7 separate regions of the Homo sapiens genome follow, and regions 1, 2, 3, 4, 6 and 7 are each linked to region 5. Evidence: promoter capture Hi-C in 16 types of primary human blood cells and fetal thymus (Javierre and others, 2016). All regions are on one chromosome and are shown on one strand. Each heading gives the region's core, a stretch centred on a gene start or on the middle of the fragment in contact. The rest is flanking DNA. Distances are from core to core; before and after follow the strand shown.

Region 1 (4,174 bases), core at 44-2,543, 3.3 Mb before region 5:
CCTTGGCCTCCCAAAGTGCTGGGATTACAGTCTTGAGCCACTGCACCTGGCCTGTGTTTTTATTTGTTTTTGAGACAGGGTCTCGCTCACCCAGGCATGAGTGCTGTGGCATGATCATGGCTCAATGCAGCCTCTGAGGCTCAAGAGATCCTCCCACCACAGCCTCTCAAGTGGCCTGGGACTACAGGCAGATACCATCATACACAGCTAATTAACACGGTTTGTAGAGATGAGGGCTTACTCTGGTGCCCACGCTGGTCTCAAATTCCTGGACTCAAGCAATCCTCTCACCTAGGCCTCCCAAGATGCTGGGATTATAGGCAGGAGCCACCTCGCCTGACTAAAGCTTAAATCTTTCAACAGATTGCCGATCAGAAAATCTTTGAATCCACCTATGATCTGTAAGCCTCTCCTTCAAGACATCCCACTTCCTTAGCCTGAACCAATGTATATCTTCCATATATTGACTTATTTTACCTGCAATTCCCAACTCCCTAAAATGTATAAAACAAAGAGTAATGCCACCGCTTCAGATGCTCTTTGTTAGGACCTCTTGGGACTATTCCCTGGGCCATGGTCACTCATATTGGTTCAGAATAAATCTCTTTAAAACCTTTTACAGAATTTGTTTTTTTTCCATTAACAAAATCATCTCATTTTGAGGCAACTGAAGCCTAAAATCGTTAGAGAAGCGCTTTGCCCAAGGATTCACACAATAGTGTTGCAAATGGAGATTTAGCACTAAGTCAGCTGTGTTGTTTTCACTATACTGGGTGCCTACATAGCAACTAGACCATGGAAAGTCTTCGCATATCTACGAGGATGCAATTTTTGATAGGAGTTGGTCATAGTCAAGAGTGGCTAGATGGCCACTTCTAAATCTTGTTGGTGCTGGATTTCCTAAACTCTGTGGGATTACTTCTTTTTTTGACCTCAAAACAGAAAAATTTCCTCTGTAACACGATTCACTAACACATGAGGTAATCACACTGCTTTGAGGTCTGTAAGGATCAAGTTGGAACCGTCATCCCCTTCCCTGGCAGTCCCTAAAATCCTTCGAGATGACGTCACCCAACGAGTTCAAGAGGGCGGTGCGTTCCTAACCACACCTTCTGCAACCCAAGTGCCGCCCCTCTGACTTTCTCCTTTTTCCTTTTTTCCGGAACGCCGGAACGTAAGACGTGGGTCACGCAACAAGAGCAACTAGTCCCGGAAGCAAAAAGCAAAGAGGCGGAGAAGAAGACGGGAAGCAGAGCCCGCGTCCGGGTCGGCCGGCAGGGGGCGGGGCCGGGCATGGTAACGGCTCGGAAGCCTAGGAGGCTGGGCCGGAGGGAGGCGGAGGAACCGGTGTTCGCCGCCGCCGCTGCTTCAGCTTATTCCTTGTGGCCTCTGCGGGTCCTGCCTCAGCCATGATGATCCACGGCTTCCAGAGCAGCCACCGGGATTTCTGCTTCGGGCCCTGGAAGCTGACGGCGTCCAAGACCCACATCATGAAGTCGGCGGATGTGGAGAAGTGAGGCTTCGGGGCACGGGGTCTGGGCGCTGGCCGGTTGCTGGCCCAGGGCGGGAGGCAGGGCGAACTCTGTGCAGCCCCTCCCCTTTTCCCTGAGGCGGAGGTTCGGTCCCTCCGGACCGGACCTTTGATTGACAACTTCGATAAATAATCCAGTCACACTTCCGGGCCCTTTGGTTGGGGATCGCCAGGCGCTGCTTTCGTCAACTGTCAATCCGCCTGGGTTTGAGTAGAGTGTGACTGTTCTGGTGGACTTTCCCCTCACCAAACGTCTCCTCCTGCCTCAGCCTGCACCACCTTTCTTTCTGGGTGGCTGTTGCCTGTTTTCTTAGGGGTTAATGACGGGGATGATTTATAAGTTTGGTTTCTGTCACGTCAGGTGCTGTGCCCGGCGCTTGAGATAGGAAATGTAAAAGACAACGTGCGCCTCAATTCACAGTCTCGTGAGAGAGACAGACAATTATATTACAGCGTGAATAAATGTAATGAAGATGTATACACGGAGTGATGTGAGGTCTTTTAGGGGCTCGAACCATCTGGGAAATTGGGATGCCTGAACTGAATCTTTATAAAACCGTTGCGGGGGGCGGTGGATAGGTACATGCCATCAGGTCAGGCAGAGTGAGTTGTGATGCGTTTTTGATGCCTGGGCTGAATCTTGACAAAATTTAGGGGAATCAGGGGACGCATGTAAAGCTGGGGGCTCAGGGAGAGTGAAAGCTGTGATGTGTTTAAAGAGCTGTGTCCGTGTGATTGGAGCGTGAGGTACCATAGGGGGTGTTGTGAGAGATGAGAGGTAGGCCCCAGGGGAATCAAGATACTGAGGGAATTTTTATGCCTGGCTAAGGAGTTTTCAATTTTATCTGACAACCACTGGGTGTAATTTTATCCAAAGGAGCTGCATTATCAGATGTACGCTCTGAAAGATTTCTCTGGAGGCCATGTTGAGGCTGGATTGCAGGTCCGCAGGGATGGGAAGGAGACCAGTTAGTAAGAGAAAAGATAGGTTTTAGAAGATTAAGTCCCTGGGATGGCCAGCTGATGGGAGGAGAAATAAAAAAGGAAGAGTCTATGCTGATGACAAGATCTCTGGCTTGGATTTTTGCATGTATCGTATGCCTTTGAACAAGATGAGAAGCACAGGAGGAGGAGAAGCAGATGGGGGCAGGGTGTTGGTTAGAGGATGAGTTTAGTTTATTGAAATGTGAGGTGGGTATAGGTCATAAAGTGAAGATGTGTAGTAGGCATTTAGATATATTTATCTTGGAGCTCAAAAAAGATAACGTCTGTGGGTTTAAGTTTGGGAATTATCTGCTTATATTTGGTACCTGGAGCTTTGGGAATGAATTAAGGTATCTAGAAGTCATCCAGAGGAAAAGGTCATAAAATAGAACCCTAAGTGAGTACTTGCATTTTAAGATTTGAGCAGAGGGAGTGACCAGGGAAGAGAGGAAAGTAATGAAACGATGTTTGCTTCCTAATTCAAGAAAATAAGTGGTAATATTCTAGTAGACTCACTGAAAAAAATTAGGAAAATACAGAAAAGAAAGGAAAAAAATTTCCCTTCATCCCACCAGAAATTGAATTACTTTTTTGAGTTTTTCCTCTCTATATCTTTCTTTTCTTTTTTTTTTATAACTTTTTTTTTTTTTTTGTATTTTTAGTAGAGACGGAGTTTCTGCATTTTGCTCAGGCTGGTCTCGAACTCCTGACCTCAGGTGATCTGTCCGCCTTGGCCCCCCAAAGTGCCGGGATTACAGGCATGAGCCACTGCGCCCAGCCTTGTATAACTTTTATTTATTTTTTATTTTGTTTTTTTGAGACAGAGACTCACTCTGTCGCCCAGGCTGGAGTGCAGTGGCACAGTCTCAGCTCACTGCAGCCTCCGCCTTCCAGGTTCAAGTGATTCTCCTGCCTTAGACTCCCTGGTAGCTGAGACTACAGGCGCGTGCCACCACGCCTGGCTAATTTTTGTATTTTTATTTATTTATTTATTTTTAATTTTCTTTTCTTTTCTTTTTTTCTTATTCTTTCTTTCTATTTTTATTTTGAGATGGAGTTTCACTTGTTGCCCAGGCTGGAGTGCAATGGCGCCATCTCGGCTCACTGTAACCTCCACCTCCTGGGTTCAAGCGATTCTCCTGCCCAGCCTCCCAAGTAGCTGGGATTACAGGCATGCATCACCACGCCCAGCTAATTTTGTATTTTTAGTAGAGATGGGGTTTCACCATGTTGGTCAGGCTGGTCTTGAGCTCCTGACCTCAGATGATCCACCTGCCCTCGGCCTCCCAAAGTGCTGGGATTACAGGCATAAGCCACCGCACCCGGCCTCCTCTCCATATAACTTTCTGTGACAAATTGCCGATTGGTGCAAAAGTAATTGCGGTTTTTAATTGCAAAACCGCAATTACTTTTGCACCAACATAATACAATATATAATTATATTATATATAAAGCAGTCAGCTTCAAACTGGGGCCCCCATGTAATTTACTTACAGATTCTCTAAGCGATGGCTGTATACATGGAGAGTTTTAAGGGAATAAAATTCCATATCTACGATCTCCTTATGTATTATTTTAAAAACAAATTTGCCTGAGGCCGGGTGCGGTGACTCACTCCTGTAATCCCAGCACTTTGGGAGGCTGAGGCAGGCGGATCAC
Region 2 (4,185 bases), core at 1,375-3,874, 3.5 Mb before region 5:
TCCTTTTACTACACTGAAAAAGGGGGTTAAAATAACTGAACGAATCCAAGGATTTTCAGGTGAAATGCACATCCTGCAAGTGAAAGGTAATCCCTCTTCATTCTGAAAGCTGAGTAGTATTTTAAGCAGTAATTACAGGTGGCTAAAAACTAAAGGCTTGGAAAGGATCAAGGTAAGACTACCCTCCAATTTTGTATTATTTTAAGTAGTTTAAAATTACTCTTACTCTGTCATGCCCTTATCCTACAGCTAAAACACAAAGCTTATGAAGGTCAGGGTTGACTTCACATTCAGTTGACTCTGTAAAGCCCAGATTATTACAAAAAGCATAGCTCAACCCTCCTTCCCGAAAATCTTTGCCACAAAACACAGCATAATTCCAAAAAAATTGAATGTTAAAAGAACTAAAAGGCAAATAAACAAAAACTTTTTAAATCAGTAACAAACTGTCCTTAATGATCAGTTTTATAATGGGTTCAATGTTGCAGTAAATAATATTAAGGGTTAGAGTATAATCCAGATGTTCAATTCATTCCATTATCAAACTGGAAATCAGATTTAGTAACCAGTTCAGACTCCAGAGAGCTGGTTCATAATCAGATAATGGGGGAACTAGACAACTTTCCTAATGATACCAACTACAGAATACAGATTTTAACTATGTAGGAGAATAAAAGCCACTTTTCGGGTAGCACTTCAGTCTTTCAATTTACAACACATTTTCTAGTTTGCCAAGTCTTAGGCTTGAAACAGACCTCAGAATATATCTGATGTTAGCCCCTAGCAAATAAGTATTATTACAACTCACTTTATAGAAGAGGTAACAGAATTCTAGATCTTTAATAAAGGGATTGGAATCTTTCAGTTTCTTACAGTTTTTTTTTTCAACCACAAGAACACAGTTTTCCAGTAGGCAAAGAGAGATGTAACGTTTACTGAGCATTTACAAAGAGTCAAGCACATATGTTATCTGTCATTCTCATAGACCGCGTATTACACAAACAGAGATCTAGGCTTTTGCTCAAGGTCACAACTATAAGTGGTAGAAGAGAATGATATCCAGGTCTGTCCACACAAAAAGCTCTGGGTAGAGCTTGTTCAACAATTTCATAAATAAGGATAGACTTAAAAAAACACACTGGACCTATGGGATGAGAAATGACACTGACTCAAGCCTGGATGAAGTAAAGCATGCAGTTTGGGGGAGGGCTCAGTCTGCAGGCCTCTGCCAGCAGCAGCTGAAGAAAGTGACCTTTACTCCAAACCCTACAGTGCGACAAACCACCCATCCAGCTCTGCCTAGAGTGGGTTAATATGCCACAATTCGAAAAGAGAAAGAGAATGAGTGTTTCATGGTGGCCCCAGACAGTTTGGTGGCCGCAGAAGTTGAGAAGGCTCAAATCTGGAGATCAGGTTTGGGTTGGAGTCGTGCGTAAGGGAGCGGATGTCACATAGGTGGGGAAGGGAGCTGACTTGAGATACGTTGGCTTAGGAAGAGATGTTGCAGGAGAGAGGGTGAAATGCACAGGCTAGGAGAGTAGACGGCTTCACTTGAAGGGAAGGGATTGGGGCTGTGGATGCCTCTAGAGGCAGTTGTCAGAGGGCCTCTAAAAGGTCCATTTTAGAGGAAGCGAGAAGGAAGGTCTCGATAAGGAGCCATTCAGGGTCCATTACCTGCTGGATGGTTGTACAACGGCCTCAATTTCTCGGGCAGCATCAGCTCCACTTTATCGAGGAGCCGGTGGTAGGTGGCCCGCAGGCCTCGGGCACCGGCGGCCGACATCGCCGCCGAGGGATCGTTGGCAGCCGGGTGGGAGCGTGGCTGTGTTCTCGTCCCTGGCTGACAACGAAGGGGAGCTAGTCACTTTTCCTGCCACGACGACTCGCGTCCGCCTCTCGCCTGGAGTACCCTTCCCGCGGCTTTCCCTGCCCGCTGTGAACCGAAAAGCTGCGGCCCGCGCCCCGCGAAGGTTGAGGGGGCGGAGGCTGCCGACTGCCAGCCCCCGGTCCGCCTCCGGCCCCCGGCAGGAGAGAGGGAGGAGCCATGGCAACAGGTGCCAAAATAATCACCTCACCAAGTCTGCGCTGCGCCCTGCTGGCAGCGCGCTTGCGCAGGCCGAGCTGCCCGCCATGATTGGCCCGCCCCGAGGCGCGGGCGGGGTCGAGCGGAAACCTCCTCCTTCTCCCCATGCCCTCGAGGCCATGTTGGAGAAGGGAAAGTGAAGCTGCGCTGGTTCTACTGCCCTTTCACTTTGATTAAGCAGGCCCGTAGTTAAAATGGGTTTTTGGGCCTTCAGTGCCTAAAGATGATGCCGCACAATTCTCTTGCTTCTTTTCACTGGAGACTCGTGAGCGAGAGACTACAGAATTGAGTAGCTTCTCTCTCTACTCGTCTTTTATCCCTAGCGACTTAAGGATCTGGTTAGAGTGGCCCGAATGCATTCTTCCAGGGTGAGGGCAGCCGCAGCACACACCAGCCTCAGTCCCCAGGGTGGTCGTCATCTCGCGAGAAAGGGTTGGCGGGGAGGGTATCCAGGACGAGGAGAGGGAGGAGTCGCCATCGCCTCCGCCTCCGCCTCCTCCTGTTGGAGGGGGGCTGAGGGAGGAGACTGTTGCTGATCTTTGGATGTTCTGGTTAGTCTAAGAAGGAGAGTATGAGGCGAGCTCCGGCCCGGGTGCGGCCGGGCTTCAGGGGCCCAGGCGCCGCTGCTGCCACCGCCATCTAACGCTGCGCCCTGGAGGCCCGGCGCGCGGATGGTGCCGGTGCGGCTCGGGTGTTGAAACGGGTGTCCCCTCCCCCTCCTCCCCTCCCCCACGCGGTGGTCTCCCCTCCCACCCGGCTCAGGCAGAGCCATGTCTCGGGGTGGCTCCTACCCACACCTGTTGTGGGACGTGAGGAAAAGGTCCCTCGGGCTGGAGGACCCGTCCCGGCTGCGGAGTCGCTACCTGGGTGAGCGGGGGCCCCGGGGCGGAGGCGCTGAGGTCGCCGCCTAGAGTGGGGGAGGGGGCACGCTGCCGGGTCTGTTGGAGGTGGGACGGCGTCTCGGTGGGGGCGCCCGGAGACTCTGGGGTGTTGGGTGGGGCCTTGGTTGCCGAATTCCGTGCCGGTGCCTCCCCCAGTCAAGCCCCCTGTGCATGCTGCCAGCCGCCGCCCTTGCTGGGTTTTTCTCGGAGGGCCGGGCCGTGGGCAGAAGGTACTGGCTTGTAAAGGTGTTGGGGTCGCTGATGGGTTGGGACTCGGGAGACTTGCGGAACCTCCAGGAGCTGCCGCGTTTAGAGCAAAAGTTAGCTCTTTTGCTCTTTTCCAGCGCGCTTTCCCCGCTCAGCCGAAGAACCTAAGTTGTTGCCCACCCTCTCCTTCAATCTCCAGAGGGTTTAGGTGTCGGCTGCGACGCGTTGACCACCCTCAGGGACTTCACGCTCCAGACAGAATCCGTGTAAACTGTTTTTGCGGCGCTGAGCCAAAACCTAAAAGTGATAGCTGAGCTCTCCCCACCCCCGCGCGCTCTCCCAGTTCCACTCTGCTCTTCAGTTCGTTTTGACCGCTTAAAGGTGGTGTAGGGTTTCACGTTCCTCTTCCCACCCCTGGAAAACACACTTGGCATTTACAGTTTCGTAGTTAAGCTTTCTAAAAACAACCTTCAGTACTTGGGGGAACAGTATTCCACTTTTTTCGTTTTGCATAACATTTTTTTTTTGAGGATTCTAGGTCACGCCCGAGTCAACTAAAAAGTTTGGTTTCTTAAAAATGGACGTACTTAGTAAAGGTCTTTTTTGTTTCTTCCTGTATACTCTTCATTACTCTTTCTTTCTATTTGGAGATACGGCAAACAACATCATAAAATTTTTTTCTTTCCAGTTTTGCCACTTGCTAGTTAAAAAGTGTTTGTTGCTCTCATTTGTTTTTGATTTCAAGTAAAGAGAAGAAAATGAAATCTCATTACAACCAACAGTTCTGGTTTGTAAATTATTTAAGAAAAGTTAGCATGCAATTTTTTAATTCTTTTTAGTGTCTCAAGTAAAATACGAATACATTTTGTTTATAAAAACTCAATAAAAATGAAGCAAAAATCCCTTTGATCCCTCCCATTCAATTTCACTCCGCCACCCTTAGAAATAATATTTTCTGTTTTCTGAATATTCTTCCAGACCTTTTTGTTTGCATTCTTACAAGTACATATGTAC
Region 3 (4,126 bases), core at 52-2,551, 3.3 Mb before region 5:
AGTCTTCCTGCCTTTGCTTCGAGTTGTCCCGCCTTTCCAAACACAACCAATGTACTTCTTACACATATTGACGGATGCCTCATGTCTCCCTAAAATGTATAACACCAAGCTATGCCCCAACGACCTTGGGCACATGTCGTCAGGACTTCCTGAGTCTGTGTCACAGGTGCTGTTCCTCAACCTTGGCAAAATAAACTTCCTGGTTAACTGAGACCTGTCTCAAATTTTCGGGCTCCACACTTCTTTCACTTAATACAATGTTTTCGAGGTTCATCCACGTTGTAGCATGTGTCAGTACTCCATTCTTTTTTATTGCATGGGTATGTCACATTTTATTTACCATTAATCAGTTGGTGGCCATTTGTATTGTTTCCACTCTGTTGCCCAAGCTAGAGTGCAGTGGCTTACTGTACTGACAATCATGGCTTACTGCAGCCTTGACCTCCTGAGTCCAAGCCATTCTTCCTCCTCAGCCTCGCAAGTAGCTTGGATTACAGATGCCCGCCAGCATGCCTGGCTAATTTTTAAGAATGTTTTGAAGAGATGAGGTCTCCCTATGTTGCCCAGGCTGGTCTGGAACTCCCGGGCTCAAGCCATCTTCCCAAAGTGCTGGGAATACAGACATGAGCCACCATGCCCAGTCTACTTTTAGTTTTTTTAAGGTCAGAAAAAAAAACAATTGTACAAACACAAAACAATTTAACAATCTATTATTCCTTTCAACATTCCTTCAGTCACTTTTTTTTTTTTTTTTTTTGAGACAGAGTCTCGCTCTGTTGCCCATGCTGGAGTGCAGTATCCTGGTCATAGCTCATTACAGCCTGGAACTCCTTGGCTCAAGTGAGCCTCCTGCCTCAGCCTCCGGAGTAGCTGGGCTTCCAGGCACGCCCCACCACACCAGACTAAGGCCTTGAGTGATTAAAAAGAAAATCTTTTCCTGTGTAGGCACGATCGCAATATGGATGAACCACAGCCTTTGTTCCCGTCTGCACAAGGCTTCTCCCCCGTCTTTGTGTCTCCGGAGCCTTGCACGTGGTAGGTGCTCGGCATTCGTTGACTGGATCAAGTAGGGCGAGGGAGCGCGGCCCGTTCCGGTTTGAAACTGCTCTGGACGCCGAATTAGTGTTTGGCAGCGCCTGGTGGTCTTCAATCCCAGCCCCTCCGGCCCGCCGCGCCCCCCGGGACCAAAACAAGCGGAGGCGAGCGCGGGCGCGCGGGGCATGCCGGGAGCCCCCCGGTGGGCAGGTGCCTGGGCGGGGCGCGCCGCGGTTGGCGCCTGGGCGGCTGGGCGGCTGCCTAGCACCCGGAAGAGCCGTCAACTTAGCGAGCGCAACAGGCTGCCGCTGAGGAGCTGGAGCTGGTGGGGACTGGGCCGCAATGGACAAGCTGAAGAAGGTGCTGAGCGGGCAGGACACGGAGGACCGGAGCGGCCTGTCCGAGGTGAGTGAGCCCGGGGCCGTCGGCCCCCTCTCGCCGCGCTCCCGCCCTGCGTCCCCTGCCCGGGCCTGGGAAGCCTGCGGGGACTCCCTGGAGTTTCTGGACGGTAGCTCTGCCCCTTCTCCTCCTCTTCTTCTGCAGGGCTCCGCGAAGAGGTCTGGCACTACACGGGGCAGTGGCCGCGGCGTCCTTTTCTGCCCCGCGCCCCTTCAGCCCATCCTCCCTGACAAGGGGGCGGCGCAGGAGGAAATCCCCGGACTGAGCTGCGAGTGGGAGGGTGGGCGACTGGGCTGTCGGCCCCGGCCCCACCGGCCGGGGAATGCGCTTTAGGGCCGGGTAGGGCTGGGGGCCCCGAGGTCCAGGCGGAAGGAGCCTTTGCTGGGTGGGTCGGGGCCCCAGACCCGGACTGGGGTGTTGGGGTGGCGGTCCCTACCTCGCGACGGGGCTGGTGGCCGCGCCCCGAGCTCTGCCTTGGTTTTCTGTCCGGTTTAGGTTGTAGGGTGTGACACTCCCACCCGCCCCTGTACACATTGCCTTGTGATTGGGGGTGAGAAACTGCCCCCATCCCATGAGGACAGGGACCACATCTTGTGTCTCTGTCCACACTGCCCACAACTAGTCTCTAGACACCCAGCGCCTCAGGAGACTGCCTGCGTGTTGGTTTGTTTTATTAGAAAAGCTTTTTTTTCTTTTTTTCTGAGACAGAGTCTCACTCTGTCGCCCAGGCTGGAGTGCAGTGGCGCGATCTTGGCTCACTGCAGCCTCTGCCTCCTGGGTTCAAGCGATTCTCCCACCTCAGCCTCCCAAGTAGCTGGGATTACAGACACCCGCCATCAAACCCGGCTAATTTTTGTATTTTTACTAGAGACGAGGTTTCACCATCTTGGCCGGGCTGGTCTCGAACTCCTGACCTCAAGTGATCCGCCCACCTCTGCCTCCCAAAGTGCTGGGATTACAGGCATGAGCCACCGCGCCCGGCCTATTAGAAAAGTTTTGATCGTGCTGAAACCTGGCCACTAATGTCCTATGTTGTAGAACCACACAGAATGCTGCATTTCTATTTAGGGTGCTTTTAGCTTTTGTTTTCCTTTTTGGATGACAAAATAACGTTTCTCTTCGCTTTTTGGTGTATTCTTTAGCCTCCGTTCCCCATCTGTGAAATGAGGATGTTAAGATGATATGGCCAACTGGAAACTAATCAGTGTTTCTTCTGGTTTCTCAGCAAGTTCTTCTTTCTCAGCAAGCTGCTTTCACCCACGTTTGTGGTTGCTGATTTTATTCGGTTTTGTTTTGTGTGATACTGGGACTTAGCATGACATCTCCGAATGTAAGATTGCTCTCTGAATCTTCACCTTGAGGGAGTAATTCTATGGGATCGAATGTTGGAGTCACTGAAATTTAACTTTTTGATATTTCAAAACAAGTTGGTGGGTTCTTTTTAATTTGTTGCCTTTATTAATTGGTCAAGGCTCAGAGTAATTTCACGGGTTTTTTTTTCTTGATTTCTAGCCTCTATTATGAATCTCAAGTGGAACCTCAGACCGGGCCTAAGAAAGGTCTGACTCATAGGTAGCTGACCCTCGTTATTTAAAGCTTTATTTCCATAGACTGTCAACAAGCCTTTATGAACAATTGGTGCTTAAGAGGCAGACACTTTCTCTCCCTGCAGACTCTTGAGGGGTGGAGTGTTGACAGTGGGATGATGCAGATATTATTGTCTCGAAAATCATCACGAAGCAGTGGGCTGACCCTCAACAGTGGACGACTAGTAAAGTTTGCAAACATAAATGCTGAGCTTGTTTTTAACCTAAAATGGTGAACGTCTGTGTTGGATACTGTGAGAAGGGCTTTAATGTGTTATGCTGAGGCATCTGTTGGATCTAATTTAAAAAGAATAGGTGCTTCGTTCTTGTTTTAAAATACTTTGGTCAGTTGGTCAGTTTCCTCTTTCTGAGTGAGATTTCTGTTTATAACATCATTGTATGGCACTTCCAGAGTCTTGAATTCCTAGGAAATGTTTTGTTGCCGACTAACTTCATCTTGCAGGCTGTTTCAGCTTAGTGTTTACTGATTAGGTCAGAGCCTCCTTTAAAATATTGGTACTGATTTGATTGTCTCATATTTTTCATGGTTTGGGGGCTGGTAGAACTGGAGGATTCTGTGGGGAAATTGCTATTTTGTGTGGTAAGTTGAATTAGGCGCTCTTAAAATCTCTTTAAGAGGTCACTAGAAGAGAGTGCTTTTTAAAACCTTTATTCCTTTAATGCAAACCATAAAGGTGTGACTAGTTCTATTTCTCCTACCTCTCCTAGGTAGTTATAAAATTTGCATGGCAGTATCTAATTATAGCCTCACGTTGAATTTTGTGATTGATACCTCATCTTCATAAATACACCTTAAGTCTTTAGTTTCAATGGACTTCTTTCTGAAAGTATAGGTTTTATGTTTTTTATAAAGGATTCTGGGGACAAGAAAGGTATGAATAGTATCTAATTTTAAAGTGTGGAAATGAAGCAGTATTTCTTTCTTACCTTCTTCTGGTTACCAATCCTGTTTTTCTGAACAATTCTTAGTATTATTCTTGGCAAGAGCCCCTCTTCTCTCCACATCACAGAGTGAAAGGGACCTTTGTGAATAACTGCCAGTCAGACTGCCTGTGAGCGCATTGCCTACAAATTCCATCCAGGTA
Region 4 (4,036 bases), core at 1,128-3,627, 4.7 Mb after region 5:
CAGAGCAAGACTCCGTCTCAAATACAAATTTTTACTCTTTTAAAAAAAGAGTTCCCAATTCCCTATAGCATAGCCTGCAGTGCACTGAACTTCATATGGTGCCTGGCCGACAGTGAATGTCATACAAGTATCTCTTGAATGACAATGATCGATTCCTTATTCCTCACATCTTTTACTTTATTTTAGTGTACTTACACGGAGGCTAACATGTTTGTGTTCGTTAAGTATACTAAAAATTAAAATGCAAACAGTGGCTAAAAAGACAACTAAATTATGCACACCCCACTTTGTTTTATTAGCTTATTAGCTACTCGCACTATCGACTGTGTAGAAGTGCAAACACTTCTCAGCCCCAACCATAAACTGCTTATTTATAAATAACAATCATATTACAGCCCAAATGTTCAATGAAAAACAGATTAATTCTGATAAAGAATAACGTACAAAAAAGCAGAAAGGTGAATAAAGACATCATTTTTCTGCAGGAACTAGAAACCGTAAGTCTAATCAATAACTTTCCTAACAGTTCCAACTTCTAGCTCTATCTTATTTAATAACACCAACTCAGACCATCTTCAACCCTGATCTGAATCAACTTCCCTCATAATGACTGTGCAAGCAGCCAACTTCCTACATGCCTAATATTTGATCAACAATTTCCTCAAAAAGGAAAGTACGAAACACTACCACTTCTTAAGCAGCTAGCTAACAGCAATTACTTCTCATAATCCTACCAATATCTAAAATCCAATAAAAATTCCAAAACACTCTCAAGCAAGACAATCAACACCACCTTTCACTTCATATGACTAACCTCTCTATCCCAAATGTCATGACTAAATGTTACTCTGTATCATTCAAGATGCCAACTATGACGACAAAATGTCTATACCTAGCATTTCTCAAGTCAGAAGTTCCAGTATACTCTGTTATCCAGTATAGTACAGTTACATCTGACACAGGGATGTTATTTAACAAACGTGGTTCTCTCTTTTCAAGACACTTGGTGGAGAAGTGAAAAATCTGTTAACAGACTTTGACTACAGTCGTCTCAACAGCCGATTCCTAAGTGGCCCATCCTTTGAAATGGAAGAAGATATTTACACATACATACGATAGGTACTTACATTATTATAAAAAGCATGTCTTTATAAGACATCCATGCTTATGTTTACAGCATCATCTACCATACTTCAAATAAATTTTGACCAACTCCACCCCTCTGCATCCGAGGAAGCTTAGTCCTCTCCATTTGCAAATTTCATTCATCTCAACAAGGACTCCTGATTGACTGAGTGTTCAATTCATCAGAGAGGCAAAAATTTTAAGACTCAACCTCTCTGCCAACTTTGTTATCCAAAACCATTTATTTGACCTTCCACCTCTTCCCTCGTCATTCGTTAAACTCCCTTCACTTCCTCCTCAGCAACACTTACCTACCTCTTTATTATCCCCACCCTGCCTCGCTACTCCAACATTCCTTCACCCCACCAACCAGGAGCTCGAATGCCTGCAAACGCTCGATTCCCTCTGCAGACACCACCACAGCACCAGTATCCCAAGCTCTCCAACAAGCCACCCCCACACCAGACCCCCCGCCCCCAAGCCTAAGCGGCAGAAACTCATAATTTAGGGACAAGGAGGGAGTGCTCTTCAAACCCACCATACGAAGTCGTTGCTTTTGTCCTCGTAGGAGTTGATGAGCCCGTTGCAGAGGGGGGCGAGGAGAGGTCGCTTCCTGCTGCCGCTGCCTAGGCTGGAGCTGCTGCCTCCTACGCCGGCGCTGGGCCTGGCCGCGCAGCTGTGCCGGGACAGGCCCGTGGACACCGCCCCGCCGCCGCTACCCGATACGGCGGGCGCCACCAACACAGGCCGCACCGGGCCCCCGAGGCCGCCCGAGCCGGCGGCCTGGGCCACCCCGCCGGACACCAGCGCTGCCGCCGAAACCGCCACGGAAGGCGGCGACGGGGAAGAGGATAAAGACGAGGAGGCGGAAGTCACCGAGGAGGCCGCCGAGGACCCGGGGCTTGTCCCAGCGGAGCCCGACCCGGCCTGGCGGCTACCAGACATCGTGACTCCCTCCCCTCCAGCCGGGCGCTCGGAGGAGAGGGACCGCGACCTCGACCCTCCGCCGCCTCCCCTCCCCTCAGCCTCAGTGCATCCTGAGGACGCCCGCCGAGCCGGAGGTGGGGCTGAGGAACAATAAAGTTGCGTTTTTTTTTAAGGCAGCCACACAACAGCGTCCCACGGGAGGGGGCGGAGGAAACTAAAAAAGCGGAGTAGAAGGCACTACCGCTGTCGAGGCCGCCGCCGCCACCGCGGTCCCTGTAGCAGCCAACCCCGGCGCGCCGTGGCCGGCCGTGCGCGCGCGCGCGAGCGGCGGAAGAGGCGGGCGTGGCGGGGGATACAACTGGGGACGCAGCGGGGCTGCGCTCAGACGCTCAGGGCGCGCCCTCGGGGTCGGGGCTCCCTGGCGAAGGGAGTCTGTCTGTCCCAAGCCGCTTTCGTTCCAGAAAACGTGCCAGAGGGCAGGCCGTCTTAATACAGTGAAAGAATTGAGGAGACTGGAATGAATGGTATAGGTGGTGGGGTGGTTTGAAAGACGGGAACGTAGCGGGCGGAAACTCTCGAAAAGCGACTGCGCAGGCGCGCGCCGGGCGCGGACGCTCACGGGTCACCCAGGGTATCCGCCCCAAGCGGAGAATATCGGCGCAAGCGCGGAGTAGCCGTGTCACGCATGCGTGCGAACGCACCACATTCCGGAACGGGAAGAAGGAGCTGTCTCTCTCTTCTGAGGGGTAGGCAGGTGCTTCCGAATCGCGGAATGTAGGTGCTCATAAGCTGGAGACCCACGGAAAGAACCTAGAAGCTCCGAGCGGTTGCAGACAGCACTGCATTGAGCCAACGACTCCTGCTCTACTGATGGTGATTCCACAGCTTTGTGAGGAATAAGTTAAGATGAAGTCAGTGAAGTTTTCTGCGAATTGCAAACATTGTAGCAAGTGTTACCAATTTTATTAGTTCGACCACGACTTCACTCCTATATTTTGAAAAGCTGTTTGCCAAATTGAACATAACAATAATGGGAAAACAGATTTTGCTCAATCAGACCCAGCTCAGTCGGAACCTAGGTTTATTGTGGATCTGATATAATTCTAGCACAAAACAAGGAAACCTAGCATTTAATACCACCAGAAAATATACAATTTCTGGTAGGCTTTTTTAGAATATTGAAAATTGATTATAGGCGGGCGCGGTGGCTCATGCCTGTCATCGCAGCACCTTGGGAGGCCTAGGGGGTCGGATCACCTGAGCCTGGAGGTGAGGATCAGGCTGAACCTGAGGTTAGAGACCAGCCTGGGCAAGATAGCGAAACCCCGTCTCTACAAAAAGTACAAAAAATTAGCTGGGCATGGTGGCAGCAGGCCTGTAGTCCCAGCTACTCGGGAGGCTGACATGGGAGGATTGCTTGAGCTGGGGAGGTTGAGGCTGTAGGGAGCGGAGATCCCTACACTCCAGCCTGTGAGACAGAGACCCTGTCTCAAAAAAAAAAATTTTTTTCATTTGCCGCATTCTAAGGGGTGGGAGTTAGAAACAACTGTGTGATTTTATCCTTTTCAATTCTATCATTCTATGATTCTTATATATTTATTTGGGAATAAAGTGTGAAAATACTCATGACTTAGTAAACTACGTGCGTATTCAAGGAGGTAAAGGAAGGCAAAGGTTTTTAAAATTTAAAAAAAAATGAGAATTACATAATTGTTTTTAAACCGTTATCCTTGGCTACGAAGATCAATAACAAGGTGACACCAGTCGGAAACTGGACAGGAAGTTGCTGGGCAGATGTTTTTGCGGAAGTATTTTTTGTGTAAGATTGTGGCTTTTGGCCAGGTGCGGTGGCTGAGGCCCATAATTCCAACACTTTGGGAGGCCAAGGCGAGTGGATCACCTGAGGTCAGGAGTTCGAGACCAGCCTGGCCAACATGACGAAACCCTGTCCCTACTAAAAATACAAAAATTAACCGGGTGTGGT
Region 5 (3,786 bases), core at 136-2,635:
GACAGGTGGATTGCTTGAGCCTGGGAGGTTGAGGCTTCAGTGACCTGTGATTATGCCACTACACTCCAGCCTGGGCAGCAAAGTGAGACCCTGCCTCCAAAAAAACAAAGAAAGATGTTTCTGTGACCAGGACACTATAGACCAGATCCTAGAAGGTTGTAGAAATTCACTAAAGTAATGCTTCCTTGTCCTCTTGTGGATGATCAGTAGGCTTTCCCCTGGCAATGACCCTATATCAATAAAAAAACTTTTTCTTTTCTTCTTTTCTATTTTTTCGAGAAAGAGTCTCGCTGCAGCCTCAACCTCCTGTGCTCAAGTGATCCTTTTGCCTCCAGCCTCCCAGGTAGCTAGGACTATAAGCATGTGCCACTATGCCTAGCTAGCTTTTTTTCTTTTTAATTTTTTTGCAGAGGTAGGGTCTCACTATGTTGCCCAGATTGGTCTTGAACTCCTGGTCTCAAGCAATCCTTTTGCCTTGACCTACCAAAGTATTAGTATTACAGGCATGAGCCACCAAGCAAGTCCAGACTTTTCTACTTCAAATTAATATTAGTGGGGAGGGAGGTGTTCATAATTTACCTCTCTTTATTATTTCATTTATTCTAACATTGCTACAGTGACAATTCCATGGACATACACCAGCTACTGGCGGGGAAGATCGTTCAGACCAGAAGTGGTAAGAAATCCTTGAATTTTAAATATGTCATAGGTAGTTCACAAAGAGGACAAAAGATACCATTTACTAAACATTCGCCATCTGTTCTGACATAATATTATCATCATTGTAGTCTCCCACTTCCAGATACACTCATCTGCCTATGTTACACTTGCCTAGTAAAAGCCAGCATGGGTGAATCTTACTATTCAACGGAGCTGAACACTGTGATGGAGAGATCATATAAATAAACTGAATGGCTTATCTCACATCCATAATTAGAAACTTAAAAAGTGCTCTCAGCAGCCCATGCTACTCTGTTCCTCACACTAGTTTTACTTTCACTCTCTGTGATAACTTTTCAATACACCAAGACTTCTCAGCTTGCCCCAAATTCACTGAGACATACTGGCGAACTGCTGGTTCAACCATTTACACATCCACCCACCAGACATAAGAGTGCTCATTTCACTGAGGCTTATTATCAACTTGTAAACGTGGTCAATTCAAGACTTCTTAGAAAGGTCTCAGGTCCAAGCTTTGTCCTGAAAAGATAATTCTGATTGCAGAAACTCCCTCCGTCCAGCAGGAAGCGCCAGCACCCTCTGTCGGGGTTGGGCCGCCACGGAGGCTTCACGTGATCCGGCCGTCTCTGCGCAGGAGTGTGGTCTTGCGGAGATTTGACCTACGTACTTAGCGTCATGACGTAGTACGTAGGGGCTGGCTAGCCGCCATCTTGCTTCTTTTTCTCGCTCGCTCGCTCCCCCTCGGAAAGCTGCGAAAGTGCTTTGGCGGTTTGTCCATCCGCAGCTTCGGCTTTTCCAGTCTGGTGGCCCTTCCGGCCACCCCTTTAACCCCAGCTTTCCCTCCCCCTTCTTTCGATCAGAGATCGGCGGAGACCCTCGAAGTGCGCAAACTTGACACTCACCCTGACCGGTAAGGAAAGCGAGGGTGTGGGGGCCGCGATCAAAGAGGGCCCCATCGGGAACGGCCAGAGTGCGGCCTGGGGCGTGGGAGCGCACCCAGACCCTGGCGCCCGGAGGCTAGGGGGCCGCGTGGAGAGGGCCTTGGGTCCGGGCATTTCCCTTCTGTTTGGTTACCATCATCTCTGTGTCTGGGGAAGTCGGCCTCCAGCTTGGGGAGCGGGAAACCGGAGTCAGACCCGCCCCATGTGGTCTGCAGCGGGAGTTCTGGACCGGTCTGTCTTGCTCCCACCTAGACCCCAGTCCTGGCCCTGCGAGGGGATTACGCATGTTGCCGGGTAAGCGAAGGGGGTTTCCGTCTTCCTGGACTGGCGGACGTGAAGTCTTTTTTTTTTTTTTTTTTTTTTAGTGTCGGGTATGCGTTTCCCCAAACAACTGAAGGACTCAGCCGGGGCTTTCACTGTCTACCTCTTCCTGTGTAGTGAGGGTGGGACTTGCAATGAGCAATGTATGGGAGGGTCTGGTTTAAAGACCTGGTTAGATGAGAGGCTCTTCGGGGAATCAAGACCAACCCTACTTCCGCTAGGGAAGTGCTGCCCAACTCCGGAGGAGGATTTGGGTAGTCTTTTCACACTCTAGGCCGCTCCATCCTCTAACTTGCGTGGTGAATCTCGGTAGCTCCCTGTCTTTGAGATAGCGTTGATATTGGTGGTGTCAGGGTAAAGGCCCCGTTTTAGGACTGAAGAAAAGGGCATGGGGCCACTATAGAGACATTGATAGAGTCTTCCTTCCTTTGCATGAGAGGAGTACCTTTAATTTAAAGGGATGTATGTGTGTTTTGACATTATTTGGGATCTTTTGAGGGTCTGACATGCCTGATGTTTGCTGGCTTATAAAGCTACCTGGATTTCCGCATTGGCTGGTTTTCAGCCTGGGTTCATAGATTCATACCTCGTTAGAGTACTTAGAATTGTACAGTAGGCGGCTCTGCTGTAAGATTTTCATTTGGAATGCACCAGAAGAATCGGAGGATTTTTTGATTGTTGAGTACTTAATAGCTTACTCCTGCAAATAAAAATAATAGGGTGATACTAAGCACCTACCAAGCCTAACCCCACCATTTTTCAAAACTAGATTTCACCTCCCATATTGGTAATTAAGATGCTGCTTTGACTGGAGCCATTTTTAGGTGTGTGTCACAGATGCACTGCAGCATCTTTTCTGGCTCACCCCAAATGCATTGATCCCCTAAAAAATTAGGAATAAATTGAACTTGAATTTTGTCTTTAGCATGTAGTCAAATAGTAATTCTCTCCTTTTCTGTAAGTGGATTTTCAGAATATAGCCTTTTTAAGTGATTGTGTTTGCTCTGCTTAGCTTATGTGTGGCTGTTCTCCATTAGGTGACCTTTTGCTATACACTGAGCACAGTAATAAGTCCTTTTCATACATTTTTTTTTTAATCTCCACAACAGACCTTTGAGAAAAGTGCTATTAAGATCATCCCCATTTTACAGATGAGGAAATGAAATCTGAGAGAGTAGTCTGACCAAGGTCACATAGCAGTTATTGGTGGTATTGTGTAGGTTCAATTCCATACTGTCTGAACCCAAAGGGGATGCTCTAAACCTTCAACCTGCTTTTTAAATTATAAACTACAGTAACTAAATAAGATAAAGCATTATTAACTAGTAGTTTTTCTTTAGCTTGACTAGTATATGAATATTGTTGCATGCTAAGGTTAAAGTTTTGAAAGTTGTAAAAATGGAATATATCCACTTTGGACTTGGGGTAGAGGCTAATTTTTTTGTGTCCTTTTCTATTTGAGTGCTTAGAGATAACTTAAAACTAACTCTACCATGTCGTAGATATAATTTTTAAATTTAGGCGTCTGATCTATATTATTGGTAGAATATTCCCTCATCTGTAAAATGGTGATGATAATAGGACTTCCCTCAGAGGCTTTTATAGGAGTAAAAAAAGATAATGGATAATGTATGTAAAGGGCTTATTACTATGCTTAGTGCATAGTAAAAGGTCAACTAATAGTGGAGGGAGAATGGTAGGATATTGGTAGAAGAAAATACTCTCTTCCAAGCAATAAATAATCTGTAAATTCTCAGGGTGATGTATATATTTCTTTAGGTACATAAGAAAATTTCACCTCCCCTTATCCCTGATATGTCTACTTATATGCAGGATTTTGCTT
Region 6 (4,211 bases), core at 228-2,727, 3.5 Mb after region 5:
ACTTAGTTTGCTCAGTTAGAAAATGGGAATGATAGTACTTGTATTGCTCATTTCCTGGCGTAAGTGGGAGGTGAAGACGGGACAGTTATTCACAGTTAAGTGTTGGGTGTGTATTAACTAGATTTGCTTTATGAAAACAAGTACTGGGGAGTCCCAAGCTTTTGTTTTGTTTTGTTTTTGTTTTTTAAACTCAAAATCTTTTCTTTAAATGAAGAAAAACTATGAGGTTTGTGTGTTCCAGTATTAATCTGGGTATCTTGTGACAAGTCTTTTAAGGTAGGTCTTGGGTACTATGTGCCCCTAGGAGATAACTTCACAGTCTTGCAGGTGGATAGCTCAGTGTTAGTCCTCTTGAAAGTAGAGATCGTTCTCAGTTTAGGCACTTAGAAATATACATTTGAGGGCACTTGATTTTTGTTTTGTTTGAGATAAAATTCAAGTTTTTAACCATTTTAAAGTGTACAATTCAGGTATTTGTTTTTTGTTTAAATATATTCACAGTGTAGTGCAGCCATCACCACTGTCTAGTTTCAGGACATTTTCATCACTCCAGAAAGAAACCATGTAGTGTGTTTTAAACAATTGCTTCCCATTCCTCCCTCAGCCCCTGACAACTACTCATCTTGTACTTTCTGTGAATTTGCCTATTGTAGGCATTTCATATAAATGGAGTCACGCTGTATGTGGCCTTTTGTTTTTTGGCTCCTTCAACTTAGCACTAACATTTTCAAGTTCATCCATGGTGTAGCGTGTATCAGTACACATGCTCTTTATGGCTAAATAATATTCTATTATATGCATGTGGCACATTGTGTTTATCCTTTCATCCGTTTATGGACATTTATTTCCACTTCTTTGTTTGAGACGGAGTCTCGCTCTGTCGCCCAGGCTGGAGTGCAATGGCGCAATCTCGGCTCACTGCAATCTCCGTCTCCCGGGTTCAAAGGATTCTCCTGCCTTAGCCTCCTGAGAAGCTGGGATTACAGGCGCGCGCCACCATGCCCGGCTAATTTTTGTATTTTTAGTAGCGACGGGGTTTCACCACGTTGGCCAGGCTGGTCTCGAACTCCTGATCTCAAGTGATCCGCCCGCCCGCCTCGGCCTCTGAAAGTGCTGGGATTACAGGTGTGAGCCATGGCGCCTGGCCTTATTTCCACTTCGTGACTAGCATAAATAATGCTGCTGCGAGTACTGTATCCAAGTTTTTTGTGTGGATGTGTTTTCAGTTCTCTGGGGTATATACCTAGGAGTGGAATTACTGGTTCATATGGTAACTTTCTGAGAAACTGTTAGACTGTTTCCAGAGTGGTTGCATCATATTCCTGTAAGAAATGTTTGAAGCTTCTGAAAGTTTCTCCACATCATTATCAACATTTGTTATTTTCTGGGGTGTTTTATTTTTCTTTTTCGGTTTATGATACCATCCTACTGGGTGTGAAGTGGCATCTTGGGAATTTGATATGCGTTTACCCAATGATGAAGATGTTGAGCATCTTTAATGTTCTTGGTGTCCATTTCTGTGTCTTTGGAGAAATGTGTGTTGAATTCCTTTGCCCATTTTTGAGGCACATTGGTGTTAATGCCTCCTAGTGAAAAATTAGGAAATAGGAAGATAAAGCTTGAATGCCTTATGGGTAGGGATAAAAGAGAAATAAAATTTTTATATACGTAAAACAAACACATGCCAAGAAGGCAAGGAAAATTACATGATAAATTAGATAGGAAACTAGGACATCTTAAAGTATTTGTGCAGAAAAAGCATCAAAGGAATCACCTTTGTTGGTTTCAAGTCTGCCAATAACAGAACTGAGGAACTGTCTCAGTTTTAAGTTTTTTCAGTGGATACTTCATAATAAAAAGAGTACTTTAGAGTCAAAACTGGCAATAAAGAGGGCTTGGGAATTCAGCCATTGGGGGAATCCCTTGCCTAATTCGAAGTACCTTTCTCATTCTGCTAGATAAAGTATTCCTATTTCAGTCAAAAAGCAAAACCTCTTGCTTAGACTTAATATATTTCATTTTACATTTCAATATTTTTATTATGAATTAGGAGTTGTAGAATCAGCGTTTTTTTGAAACCATTACAATAAAAATATTACTTTGAACTGAAACATTTTGGTTCTATGCTCAAAAGATGAGTTTGCAAGATTTTTTGTCATAGTAATATGAGCTGTTCTTGGAAGGGTCGAGAGTGTGGACAAGAGGGTTGGGCAGAGTTGATTTTTTTTTTTTTTTGGGAGACCGAGTTTTGCTCTTGTTGCCCGGGCTGGAGTGCAATGGCGCGATCTCGGGTCACTGCAACCTTTGCCTCCCGGGTTCAAGCGATTCTTCTGCCTCAGCTTCCCGAGTAGCTGGGATTACAGGCACGTGCCACCACACCCGGCAAATTTTTGAATTTTAAGTAGAGACGGGCTTTCGCCGTGTTGGTCATGTTGGTCTCGAACCCCTAACCTCAAGTGATCCACCCGCTTTGGCCTCCCAAAGTACTGGGATTACAGGTGTGAGCCACTGCACCTGGCCAGAGTTGAACTTTTTATACCATGTCATCTGTTATAGATAGGCAAAACTAGGGCATCTGAGTTAAATGAGATAACAAAAGACTTGTAGTAAAAGAAAAGAATTAGTTCTGTTATTGCATTTTATAAGACTATTAAGAAACAGGCTTTCAAACTCTGTTGTGCGTCTGATATTCTGAGTTATAAAGCACTAAAAGACTTTTTTAAATTGAGCTTTTGATATCAAGCTGTGACACAAGATTTTTTTGGTCAAGTTGGTAGTGTCAAGCCAGAGTGTAAAGTTATTGTAAGAAAAGTGAAACAGCTGTTTGGAAAGATCTTGTGTATTTGCAGTATGTCAGAGGGTAATTGGGGGAAAAAAAACTTAGGCTCAATAATTTTCTAACATTGTCTTTAACTCTTGAATTTCATAAAATGTTGCCTCTATCTCTAGAAAGTAGAAAGTAGTAGACTTTAATAGATGATGGATTGGCAAGAGAAGAAAATGAGAACGTGGTGGCTTTTTCAAAAGATAATTTCCAAGAGTATGTTGCATTTTCGGTCTTTTGTCACCTTCTGTGCAACCAACTCCTACACTTCTGAGTGTAAGACTGACCCAGCTTCAGAGCAAGACTTTTCCTCAAAAGCAGAAATTTTTTTTTTTATCTTTTGTCTTAAAAATTAAGACTTTTTTTATGTGAGGTATTTGAGGTGGGAAGATAATGAAGACCAATCAGTGACAGAAAGTGGAGCATTCATTACCTCAGTTAAGTTTGCTATAAAAGCATTTTACCATGGTCACTGCATGTTCTCTCATCTCTTAAATATTTTAAAAGTGTCTAACATCTAATGACACTCGGATTAGATGTTACAAGGAAATCTATGAATCCTTTGTCAAAAAAAAGTTCTTTGTTTTACTTTTTAGGTCGCAGACGTTTCTTGTAAATATTTTAAAACATAAACTGGAAAATTTAGGTTTGAAGACCTATTTATTGTTTGTTCAAGATTGTTCAAAGTTTTCCTTTTGAAAAAAAGGAAGCTTGAGTTAATTACAGTTAATAAGCCAGATGGAAGAATTGAAGTTGCAACTCAATCCTAGAAAATTTAGATGAACTTCTTAATTCTTAGTGCTTATTTCAGTAAGTTGAAATGAGTGATACGCACAATATCAAGCCATTTCCTTATTTATCATAGCTAACTTATTTTTTGTCTTAACACAGCTACAGAAAGATCTAGAAGAGGTAAAGGTGTTGCTGGAAAAGGCTACTAGGAAAAGAGTACGTGATGCCCTTACAGCTGAAAAATCCAAGATTGAGACAGAAATCAAGAACAAGATGCAACAGAAATCACAGAAGAAAGCAGAACTTCTTGATAATGAAAAACCAGCTGCTGTGGTTGCTCCCATTACAACGGGCTATACGGTGAAAATCAGTAATTATGGTATGACTTGCTTCCCTATAGCCAGTTCTGCCTCCGAGCAACCTATTCCTCATAGTGGTCTAACAAATTCATCCCCAATGAGTTTTGAGTCTGTGTTTTTGGTGGTTTGGAGCAAGACCCATCAGTTTTTATTTAATAAAACTTTTTTAAGATATAAATAGGAAAGGATGCGTTCTAGAAGCTGTTAACAAGAGTAAGGTGATTCACTACAAAATGTAACAACAAGGAAGGAACTTATTCTGAAATTGTTCAGTATAAGACACAGCTTTGGTGGTG
Region 7 (3,975 bases), core at 1,171-3,670, 3.5 Mb after region 5:
ACATTTCTTTTAAACTTGACAAATAAAAGTTTAAATTAGTATACATTTCTTACCTATAAAAAAGAGGGAGTAGACTTTTTAAAAAAACTGTTGGACCCTTTCTTACTCAGGGGAGTCAAGATAAGTGAATCCATCTTTGAAAAATGTTTTTCTGGCTGGGTGTGGTGGCTCACACCTGTAATCCCAGCACTTTGGGAGGCCAAGGCAGGTGGATCACTTGAGGTCAGGAGTTCAAGACCAACCTGGCCAACATGGTAAAACCCTGTCTCTACTAAAAATACAAAAATTAGCTGGGTGTGGTGGCACATAACCTGTAGTCCCAGCTACTCAGTAGGCTGAGGCAGGAGAACCTCTTGAACCTGGGAGGCAGAGGTTGCAGTGGGCAGAGATCGTGCCACTGGACTCCTGCCTGGGTGACAGAGCAAGACTCCGTCTCAAAAAAAAAAAAAATTTTTTTTCTGCCATAGCAAATAAACTTACATTTTATTATTTTTTCATATCCCAAAAACTGTGTTGGCTTTTGGAAATAGTATGTTATGAAATAATGTGCTTTTAAGGAATAGTAATAGACACAAGGATGGTTTATATATGCCTATGATAACTTAATGATAAACTTCAGAAGTCTTCCACTTTCTCTTTGAGCTTGGATAATCCAGAGAGTTCATTGTTATAGGATGGTGAAGATGCAAAACTAAATCCTTTTGGCTTCTCAAGCAATATAGCTAATAAGGAGTGGGCGATTTCTAACAATGCTGGTCTGCTAGAGTCCCTTATACTTAACCCTTGGGGGAAGAATATGCTTTAGGAACACTAAGAATTTCTAGTATGTTTACTGGTGATCTTCAGAGTTTTCAAGAAACTTTCATTAATTTTTAGAAAGTTTTCTTTTCTGTTTAAGTATTACTGAGAAAATTACCTGACACTAATATGTTTCTATATCATCTAGAATGCATCTGCTTTTTGAAAATTTGATTTGTGTACTAGAGTAGAGCAAGGATCTGCAGACTGTGGTTTATAGGCCAAATCTGGCTCACTGCCAGTTTTTGTAAACCAAGTTTTATTGGAACACAACCACACCTGTTTATTTATTTATAGTGTATGGCTGGTTTTGTATGACATTTGTAGAGTTGAGAAATTTCAACATAGACCATGCGACCTGCAAAGCCTAATATAGTTACTTTCTGGCAATTTACACTAGAAGTTTGCTGACCCCTGTGCAAGAGTATAACCTAAGATAGTTTTTTAAGCGCTGAAAGAAATGCAGTCTGTTTGGCCAGCTGTCATTTATCACTGACAAGATTTTGTTTTTAGTTTGACATTTAAAAATTTGAAATTTTCCACTACAAAGATAAAATTGGATGTGATGAGTAAAGGAGGGAAGCACAAAACCTTCAAATATCCATATTTTCTTTCTCAGATCTTCATTATGGACAACATAGATATTTAAACATTTTATCTGTAGGCATTTGAAAACTTGAATATGATAGCTGTCAACTCTTTTAAAAGAGGTATCCAAAAGAAAATATGTGAGAGTTGAGTGTGTTGTTGCTAATAAATTTGCACTGAGTCTTTTAGGAAAACATTTTCTCCTGACCCTTAAAAGTCTTTAAAAGCATGTGCCAAGAATTCATCATAGCAGCAGACAACACCCAAAATATTGAGCTAGGGTTTATAAAGCCGCCTCCCTCCTCGTCATTTTTTCCTTTAAAGCTTAGTTTCTTTACTTTTAATTAACAGTTCACATTTCTCTGGTTTCTCATCTTGAAATAAATGACGTTCACAATCCCTTGAACCGCTTCACCCAGACTTCAGCCCCCAGGTACACATGAGATCCAGGATCCATTTTTCTTTTGCATTGCCCTGCCCAGCAATTTCATTCTTTTGTCTGAAGATGAACTATTTTGCAAGATTTCTGACCTTGTCATATAAGGAAGTTCCTTCCACCCAGCTTTAACAACACAGTATCAACACCTCACACCGTAGTTCCTTAATAGTCCCACATACAGCATTTTAGTCATTCATGCAAACTGTAAACAGCAATGTGGAGAGGGAGGAGTTTGAAGATATGAGTCTTCCTGAGTTGAGACTTGCCCACTGGCTACCTCAAGTATCTTTGTTCCATTGAATGTTTGCGGTCACAGAGAGAACTTAGAGTTATATGACACTCAAAGGAAAAGCAAAAGAGCATTAAGAAGTGTCTGTTTTTGTTATTGCCATTTCATAAATATTTTAGTAGGTGTTCAATTTCATTGGATATTCTTTTTTTTTAATTGTCTTTGTACCTATGATTGAAAACAGTAGTTGGTCTATGACTTTTGAGGAGGTAAGTTTTTTTTTTAATCTATGTATGTCTGTAACATCAGTGTCTGTCTCTTTGAAAAATGCAGTATCCTCCTCCCAAAAGTTACTAACCAAACTTTCCCAGCTGTACATCTCCTATCCATAAGGGGTGAAACTATGAGGACAGTTGTTATCTGCTTTTTGTTCAAACGGTGTCAGTTGTGTGAGATGGGGAGTATATGTTTCAGACAGTGTGATGTGAGTTTTAAGAGTTATGTAAGCAGTGTCTCCTGTAATCTTTTCTGAAAGGCAAGAGGGAGCCAGTTTGCCTGTTTTGTTTACAGGCTTTGAGCATTTAGCACATCTGCTTGTGCAAACTTACAGCATGTGAATTTCTCTGGGCTGACTGAGGTTATTGGGGCTGACTTTAAGTCTGTCTTCCATGGGCAACCCTTGTCAACATTTCAAAATGAACCAAGCAGGGTTACTGCCTTTTCCAAGACCATCAAAACCAAACTCTCTTCTCCATTCTAGTATACAGGCAAACTTTTTCTAGAATTGGTCAGTATTGAAAACAGTTTTGGCTCCTTGAGAAGAACTGTAAAAGACAGCCACGTTAATATAAGCTCTGTTTAGCCCTCAGTAGGTAAGTGTGGGCAAGTTCTTTGTAGAAAATCTCCATCTCAGTAGCAGGGTCTCACTGTAGTGCTCAGTAGCACTCACCCTGGGTTCATACTTTGGAGGATGATACTGCATTTTTGGCCCCGTAGCTTGCTTTCCCACTTGTCTGTGAGTGCAGAGCAGGAGTCTGACACTTCCCACTGTGCTGCTTGCTTTGCAGACACTAAATTGAAGCTTCTTGCTAAAGCAAAAGCCAGTAGGCGTGCCCTCTAGGCTATTTTGCTTTGCAGGGACTCTGAGACACTCAGTTTCTCCCAAATCTTTTCCCACCCTTGCCCTTGCCCCTTTAGCTGTGTGTCTGTAAGGAAGGGTTTCAGTTGCAACAGTCATTGTAATGAGAAGTTACTAGTCAGAATTTCAGCTGAACTCACACCTCTTTCTTATATAACAGATAATCCATCAGACATTTATCTCTAATCAACAGTGAAGTAGCTACCTGGTATGATTTCTAAATACTTGAACAAAGTACTTTTCCATGAACATCCTATGACTTTACTTGGAGGTTACTTTAACTCAATTCTAAGCATGTAATTGTAACCTGAAAAACTGGTAGTGGCAACATTTTCACTTGTGCCAAATGAATGTAATGTACATAATAGTCGAGGGAGCTTTTTGTACTTTGGGGTTATACAAGTACAATTTCAATAGCAATAGGATACTTAACTCAGGAATACCTATTGAAGTAGTCTTATCTTAGTTTCTTGAAGATATTTATCAAGAAATGAGAAAAATCTCTTCCCTGGCTAAGCAGCCTGCATTGTGAAATATGTCATGTTGAAATTGTGCTGGTATTGTTACTCTTTCCTGGCTGGGAGGAAATTTATTGAAAAAGCTTCTCAAATCTTTTTTTTTAATCTAAGTTTCCTATATGTTTTTTTTCCATGAAAAGGAGTAATAGATATATCAGAAATAAAGGCTAACTCTCCAGCCCCTGCTAGAAATTGTGTTGCTTAGGCAAAGATTCAAAGATTTCATTGTAGAAGCTCTGGCTTTTTAGAAATTTGTTTTTTAGTC

The links. Contacts are between HindIII fragments. The CHiCAGO score rates a contact against its expected background, and 5 or more counts as called.
Region 1: the fragment with the promoter of TIPRL here is called in contact with the fragment with the promoter of PRRC2C in region 5 in 2 of 17 cell types (total CD4 T cells and total B cells); the score reaches 5.3 in total CD4 T cells.
Region 2: a contact is called between the fragment with the promoter of DCAF6 here and the fragment with the promoter of PRRC2C in region 5, in 2 of 17 cell types (monocytes and fetal thymus). The highest score is 7.3, in monocytes.
Region 3: a contact is called between the fragment with the promoter of SFT2D2 here and the fragment with the promoter of PRRC2C in region 5, in 1 of 17 cell types (fetal thymus). The highest score is 6.4, in fetal thymus.
Region 4: a contact is called between the fragment with the promoter of COP1 here and the fragment with the promoter of PRRC2C in region 5, in 9 of 17 cell types (fetal thymus, naive CD4 T cells, naive B cells and 6 more). The highest score is 15.1, in fetal thymus.
Region 6: a contact is called between a fragment that was not itself captured here and the fragment with the promoter of PRRC2C in region 5, in 4 of 17 cell types (total B cells, naive CD4 T cells, total CD8 T cells and 1 more). The highest score is 7.9, in total B cells.
Region 7: a fragment that was not itself captured here is called in contact with the fragment with the promoter of PRRC2C in region 5 in 1 of 17 cell types (naive CD4 T cells); the score reaches 5.7 in naive CD4 T cells.

Annotation. Positions count from the first base shown.
Region 1 is chr1:168,177,669-168,181,842 of GRCh38, forward strand. TIPRL (TOR signaling pathway regulator) reads left to right here and starts at 1,294. Exons shown (of 7, transcript NM_152902.5): 1 at 1,294-1,513. The coding sequence starts at 1,410. RefSeq lists enhancers at 917-1,418, 1,406-1,525. The HindIII fragment of the contact is 4,299 bases long and covers 345-4,174 here.
Region 2 is chr1:167,934,059-167,938,243 of GRCh38, forward strand. It overlaps DCAF6 (DDB1 and CUL4 associated factor 6), which reads left to right and starts at 2,625. Exons shown (of 22, transcript NM_001198956.2): 1 at 2,625-2,950. The coding sequence starts at 2,854. MPC2 (mitochondrial pyruvate carrier 2) reads right to left here and starts at 3,014. Exons shown (of 6, transcript NM_001143674.4): 1 at 2,881-3,014; 2 at 1,675-1,840. The coding sequence starts at 1,783. RefSeq lists enhancers at 1,641-1,750, 2,201-2,510 and silencers at 1,921-2,090, 2,691-2,760, 2,791-3,030. The HindIII fragment of the contact is 3,362 bases long and covers 261-3,622 here.
Region 3 is chr1:168,224,703-168,228,828 of GRCh38, forward strand. It overlaps SFT2D2 (SFT2 domain containing 2), which reads left to right and starts at 1,302. Exons shown (of 8, transcript NM_199344.3): 1 at 1,302-1,440. The coding sequence starts at 1,378. RefSeq lists a silencer at 969-1,598 and enhancers at 1,223-1,956, 2,259-2,338, 2,459-2,508. The HindIII fragment of the contact is 4,334 bases long and covers 1-2,114 here.
Region 4 is chr1:176,204,909-176,208,944 of GRCh38, forward strand. It overlaps COP1 (COP1 E3 ubiquitin ligase), which reads right to left and starts at 2,378. Exons shown (of 20, transcript NM_022457.7): 1 at 1,664-2,378. The coding sequence starts at 2,070. COP1-DT (COP1 divergent transcript) reads left to right here and starts at 2,757. Exons shown (of 5, transcript NR_185981.1): 1 at 2,757-2,963. RefSeq lists silencers at 1,816-2,175, 2,206-2,415 and an enhancer at 2,916-2,985. The HindIII fragment of the contact is 7,879 bases long and covers 1,236-4,036 here.
Region 5 is chr1:171,484,145-171,487,930 of GRCh38, forward strand. PRRC2C (proline rich coiled-coil 2C) reads left to right here and starts at 1,386. Exons shown (of 35, transcript NM_001387844.1): 1 at 1,386-1,591. RefSeq lists enhancers at 975-1,284, 1,191-1,939. The HindIII fragment of the contact is 3,004 bases long and covers 1,192-3,786 here.
Region 6 is chr1:175,000,899-175,005,109 of GRCh38, forward strand. CACYBP (calcyclin binding protein) reads left to right here. Exons shown (of 6, transcript NM_014412.3): 2 at 3,716-3,935. Among named protein-coding and RNA genes, the nearest start is that of CACYBP, 3.1 kb to the left of the region's middle. The HindIII fragment of the contact is 277 bases long and covers 1,340-1,616 here.
Region 7 is chr1:174,962,663-174,966,637 of GRCh38, forward strand. All of the region lies in intron 20 of RABGAP1L (RAB GTPase activating protein 1 like), which reads left to right. Among named protein-coding and RNA genes, the nearest start is that of RABGAP1L-AS1, 10 kb to the left of the region's middle. The HindIII fragment of the contact is 1,425 bases long and covers 1,709-3,133 here.